2 separate regions of the Homo sapiens genome follow, and region 1 is linked to region 2. Evidence: promoter capture Hi-C in 16 types of primary human blood cells and fetal thymus (Javierre and others, 2016). All regions are on one chromosome and are shown on one strand. The core of a region is centred on a gene start or on the middle of the fragment in contact, and the rest is flanking DNA. Distances in the headings are between cores, read along the strand shown. Region 1 holds the start of FGFBP3 (fibroblast growth factor binding protein 3). Region 2 holds the start of RPP30 (ribonuclease P/MRP subunit p30).

Evidence for each region. Contacts are between HindIII fragments. The CHiCAGO score rates a contact against its expected background, and 5 or more counts as called.
Region 1: the fragment with the promoter of FGFBP3 here is called in contact with the fragment with the promoter of RPP30 in region 2 in 10 of 17 cell types (activated CD4 T cells, fetal thymus, naive CD8 T cells and 7 more); the score reaches 14.0 in activated CD4 T cells.

Annotation. Positions count from the first base shown.
Region 1 is chr10:91,908,137-91,910,836 of GRCh38, reverse strand. FGFBP3 (fibroblast growth factor binding protein 3) reads left to right here and starts at 1,351. Exons shown (of 2, transcript NM_152429.5): 1 at 1,351-1,439; 2 at 1,790-2,700. The coding sequence starts at 1,868. The coding sequence ends at 2,644. FGFBP3-AS1 (FGFBP3 antisense RNA 1) reads right to left here. Exons shown (of 2, transcript NR_199602.1): 1 at 2,588-2,700; 2 at 1,489-1,940. RefSeq lists an enhancer at 1,711-2,005 and a silencer at 1,909-2,478. The HindIII fragment of the contact is 14,773 bases long and covers 1-2,700 here.
Region 2 is chr10:90,870,578-90,873,277 of GRCh38, reverse strand. It overlaps RPP30 (ribonuclease P/MRP subunit p30), which reads right to left and starts at 1,304. Exons shown (of 11, transcript NM_006413.5): 1 at 1,210-1,304. The coding sequence starts at 1,291. RefSeq lists enhancers at 994-1,053, 1,184-1,453, 1,172-1,466. The HindIII fragment of the contact is 10,238 bases long and covers 893-2,700 here.

The DNA.
Region 1 (2,700 bases), core at 102-2,601, 1.0 Mb before region 2:
ATTTCTAATCTATTATTCCTAACCTATTATAACTGTTTGCAGAGAGAAAATAATTGAATTTTTCTAATAATCTGTAAAATTATGCTAACTTCTACAAGTAGGCTTCTAAATAAAAATTTTAAAAAGAGCAAAAAAAAAAAAAAAGAAAGAAAAAACAGCTTTGCTTGGTCAGCACTTTGAGAGGCTGAGGCAGGTGGCTCATCTCAGGTCAGGAGTTCGATACCAGACTGGGCAACATGGTGAAACCCCTTCTCCACTAAAAATTAGCTGGGTGTTGTGGCAGGCACCTGTAATTCCAGCTACTGGGGAGGCTGAGGCAGGTGAATCGCTTGAACCGGGAAGGCAGAGGTTGCAGTGAGCCGAGATAGCACCACTGCGCTCCAGCCTGGGTGACAGAGTGAGCTCCCGTCTCAAAACAAACAAACAAACAAACAAACAAACAAACCCCCGCACACACACACAATCCCCCCCTCCAGAAAAAGCAGCTTTGCTTAAATGTAACATTTTCAAGATTCAAGAACACATTCATTCTCTCTCTCTTTTTTTTTTTTTTTGAGAGGCAGTCTCGCCCTGTCCCGGGTTCAAGTGATTCTCCTGCCTCAGCCTCCTGAGTAGCTGGGATTACAGGCATCTGCCACCACGCCTGGCTAATTTTTGTATTTTTAGTAGAGACGGGATTTCACCAGGCCAGGCTGGTCTCACATTCTTAACTATTATACCATTTCAATTGGTAATCTTACCGTTCAACTACTATAATACAAATAATTTTTTTAAACTTCTAATTTTTGGAGGACCCTTATAACTGATTTCTAATACCTAAAAATAATAAAAAGCCCAAATGTCCACTCCTGGGTGAACTGCTGGGCACTATTGTATGTTAATAAACTAGGATATTATATTTTTATTAGTAGTAACAATTATTAAGATTGAGAGTCTTAAGAAAGGCTATTGGAAATAATAGGTAAAAATGTAGAACTCAGAATATGAGAAATAGAATGTAAATGATATAATTGTGTAAAAAATGCCTAGTTTAGAATACTGAAGTTTGTTTTGTTTCATTTTATTTAACTTTTAAAACTTAGATCTTTTGTTTAATTTTTATTTTTTGGATGGTTAAGTACATGAAAGAAGAAAAACTTGGTTAATTTTGCCTGATTATTTTAAACATTGGAAGCAAAATACAAGATTTGTATTTCATACTACAGGACCGCTTCCATCATCCATCTGGAGAGACAGAGAGAGAGAGGGAGAGAGAGAGAGAAGCGCGGCGGTGATAAGTCTCCCAGTGTGAGAGAAATCGGGGAGGGGCGAAGAAGGGTAGGCCTCTTCTGTTCCATTGATACCACGTTCATTCACAGGGAGCCGGCTAAAACAGACTACTCCCCCGTGCAGTCGTTCCCTCTACCCTAATAAGGCTTTGGCGCCTCTCCCAGAACTCGGTAAGTTCAAAGTGTAGTAAAGTGCATGTTTCCAAGGAATCATCTGAAATGATTTTGTAGATAGTTTATTGCAGGTTGGAGAAGGGAGAAAATGAAGGAAGGGGTAGAGGGGGCAATTATCACGCATCGTTTTGCTATCGTATTTGCAAGGGGAAGAAAATCTCAATGCATACATGGTTCGAAAGTGATTATTTAGACAGTAAGCAGTTTCCCCAGGAAAGCTCCTCAGAGGGTCTCCTCGCAGGCTGCAGATTCTAGAAAGTCTGCGGAAGAGTAGTTCGCAGGTGCATGTGTCTGGGCGAAGCGCTGCGTGTGGCTCAGTTGGTGGCAGTCTCTGCCTCTGTCCGCAGGTCCTGGGGAATGCTCTTTGCCTGGTCCAGCCCCGACAAACGTGGTCTGAGAACAGCGGAGCGCGGAAACCGCGGAGCATGACTCCTCCGAAGCTGCGAGCGTCGCTGTCGCCGTCGCTGCTGCTGCTGCTGAGTGGTTGCCTCCTCGCGGCTGCTCGGAGGGAGAAAGGGGCGGCTAGCAACGTGGCGGAGCCGGTCCCCGGGCCCACTGGCGGCTCCTCGGGTCGCTTCCTCAGCCCCGAGCAGCACGCGTGCAGCTGGCAGCTCCTGCTGCCCGCCCCGGAGGCCGCAGCGGGCAGCGAGCTGGCGCTGCGCTGCCAGAGCCCGGACGGGGCGCGCCACCAGTGCGCCTACCGCGGGCATCCGGAGCGCTGCGCAGCCTACGCCGCTCGCCGCGCGCACTTCTGGAAGCAGGTGCTGGGAGGGCTGCGCAAGAAGCGGAGGCCCTGTCACGACCCCGCGCCGCTCCAGGCCCGCTTGTGCGCGGGCAAGAAGGGCCACGGCGCCGAGCTGCGGCTAGTGCCCCGCGCGTCCCCGCCCGCACGCCCCACCGTCGCGGGATTCGCGGGGGAGTCCAAGCCCCGGGCCCGGAACCGGGGGCGGACCCGGGAGCGTGCGTCCGGCCCAGCCGCTGGGACCCCGCCTCCCCAAAGCGCACCGCCCAAAGAAAACCCCTCAGAGAGGAAGACCAACGAGGGCAAGAGGAAGGCGGCCTTGGTCCCCAACGAGGAGCGACCCATGGGGACCGGGCCCGACCCCGACGGGCTGGACGGGAACGCGGAGCTCACGGAGACCTACTGCGCTGAGAAGTGGCACTCCCTCTGCAACTTCTTTGTCAATTTCTGGAACGGCTGAGACTGCCTGCCGGCTTAGGGAGGGTTGATGGGGGAGGCGTGGGGAAGGGAAAGCTA
Region 2 (2,700 bases), core at 55-2,554:
TGGGGGAAATTCTCTAAAGAAATCATTATTAACTTTTCTTTTTTGTATTAATTTTTTTAATGTGTTCAGTTTATTCCACAAGCATTAACTGAGTAACTGCCATGTACTGGTGCCTGCAGAGTGAACGTGTTAAGCACAGTAAATAAAAGGATAAGACATGGCAATTCTCTTAGGAAGCTCATGATTTATTCAAAAATGGGATGGCGTCAGGAAAAGCCTCATTGAGGAGGTAATAATTGCGACAAACTACACCTAGGAAAACTTATTTTACAGGATCAAAGAACATTAGCGCCAAATGGCCCAGATCATCATGTCTACTTTCGTCTTCGTGCTGATGAGCAAAGTACCACAGAGATAACGTTCATTTAGTGGCAGCAGTGGAAAGGGACAGTCATTTCGCCACGGATACTTCATAAAGAGAACAATAAAAAAGTGGTGTGATTCACTTTGCCAAGAAGTGGTTGTCATTTCTAGCACCACCTCTGAACAGTATCAGTAATCAGAACTCACAATGAGCTGAAAACTGTCTCTGAGGAGCAGATGTTACTACACGAACCTCTTGATTCTTTTTAATCTCTCTATTCCAACACTTTACAGTCTACGGAATACAGAACCCATGACTAACTCCAATAGTTAAAACAGGTTCTCGTCTCTCAAGGCTTTCGCTTCCCTTCGATTTGGGCCATGCTATCCTCCTCCTCCACCTCCACTCCGCTGTGTATGTCCTCTGCCCCCACCTACCCTCTCTCTGTCTAGATAGTATTGTTCCAACACTCCCACGTCCTCCTCCTTCTCCGAGCCTCCACGGCGCTTCCTGTCCGTGCCCCAAATTCCAGTATTTGTTTAGACACTGTCGTGAGAATCAGGAAGGGCTGATAGTAACTTAGAAGCTTAGAAGATTGTACCCTTGGAGTCCAGCTCCGGCTTCTGTCACCTATCAGCTGTAGGCCCCTATGCAAATCCCTCGCCCTCGTTAGGCCTCAGTTCCCTCATTGCAGGAAAGTAGCTGAACCAGATAACAACCCCCAGAACCTTCGAGTTTCCCGCGCTAGGAATCAGACCAACACCTCGGCGGGCATCAGCCTCCAGGGACATCCCAGAGACTCTGGGAGACCTGACCGAGACCCATCAGGAAATAGTTACTCCGGAGTGTGGCCCGATGGTCTGGGTGGCATGAGGTTGGCCAGGCGCGAAGCCGGGGCAACTCACGGTGAGCGGCTGTCTCCACAAGTCCGCGCAGAGCCTTCAGGTCAGAACCCGCTCGCAGGTCCAAATCTGCAAACACCGCCATGCTGAAGTCCCATGACCGTCCGCGCGCGCCAGTCTGCGCAGCCGCTGAGCCCGCCCCTCAGGCATGCTGGGAGCTGTAGTTAACCTGCGCAGTCCGTCTCTACCTCCAGTTGACTAGGGATTCGGAGAAACTTACTTGCTTTGCTTTCATCTACCACCAGAATTTGTGTGTTGAAATCAACAGCTTCATTTCAATCTCTCTTTGTCTTCTTCTGAACGACAATGTTTGGTTCCCCCTGGAGGGGTTCCAATTCCCAACTATTCAATACTCCTATAAAATAGTGTAGAAATGAATTCATTCAAAATGCACGCACACGGTATCTACTTAGTGCTGCTCATGAATCAGAGAATTCTGCTAATGGGTGAAAACGCTATTTAAAGAGTCTTAAAGAACACGTTTTCCTTTCCTTTCCCTAAAGTCCATTCCGTTGTTTACAATGGACTTACCGGGAAGAAGGCGTTTGTGTGTGACGGACTCTAGGACTTCAAAAGAGAACTACCCCAAGACGAGGGTCTTTTTACCCAATCAGAACTGTTGATGTCAAAGCCCGCTATTCTCTGTGGCAGTCAACATCTTCAACCACAAGATGGCGGGACTCGCTCTAGGACGAGCGGTTAGAGCCAACATTGATTTAGCCAAAGACATGTTTGAAAAGGGAGGTGCAAAATTGAGATGTTTTACACTTTTCCAGCTGAGAAATGTACAAGGTGACGCATATCCCACATATCTGATGTTTCCACTTTTTTCCGACTTAGTGTAAATGATCTATTGAGGATAATAATCAATTATACTACAAAAGTGTGACTATAGTTTACATCAGTGCTCTCAAACTACCTGTGATGAAGGATCAGTTTCTCCCTCCTTTTCCTCTACCCCCAAACTCTTCGCGAACCAGGATGTGGTCCTTTATGCATTACCAGTAAGCAGCCTGGCCTCATGGGAATCACAAATTTGACAACACTCGAACTGCCCTATACCTGGCTGAATAGAATCTGCTGATCAGGAGCTTGGATTATCAGGACAATGCCAAAGTACTGTAAACTTTCTAAACATCTTCACTTTTTGTTTGTTTGTTTGTTTTATTAACGTGCGCACAGCAACAACAATCACAGAATTAGAGGCTCGGTCATTTGACCTAGGGAGTATCCTAGTTGGTGGCCTGCTGAGTTTTCGTTTCGTTTTGTTTTGTTTTTAGAGAGAGTATCTCGTTATTGACCAGGATGGACTCTAACGCAAGCAATCCTCTCTCCTAGCTGTGATTACAGGAGCCCACCCACATGCTTCACCCATCAATTTCTCTTATTTACTGATCACAAACAGTTCACAGATAGTCTCTCGTCTATGGACCACACCTTAACTAGTACTCCTTTATGCGATTTTCTTGTCGGTCTCAGAAGGGAGGAAGGATC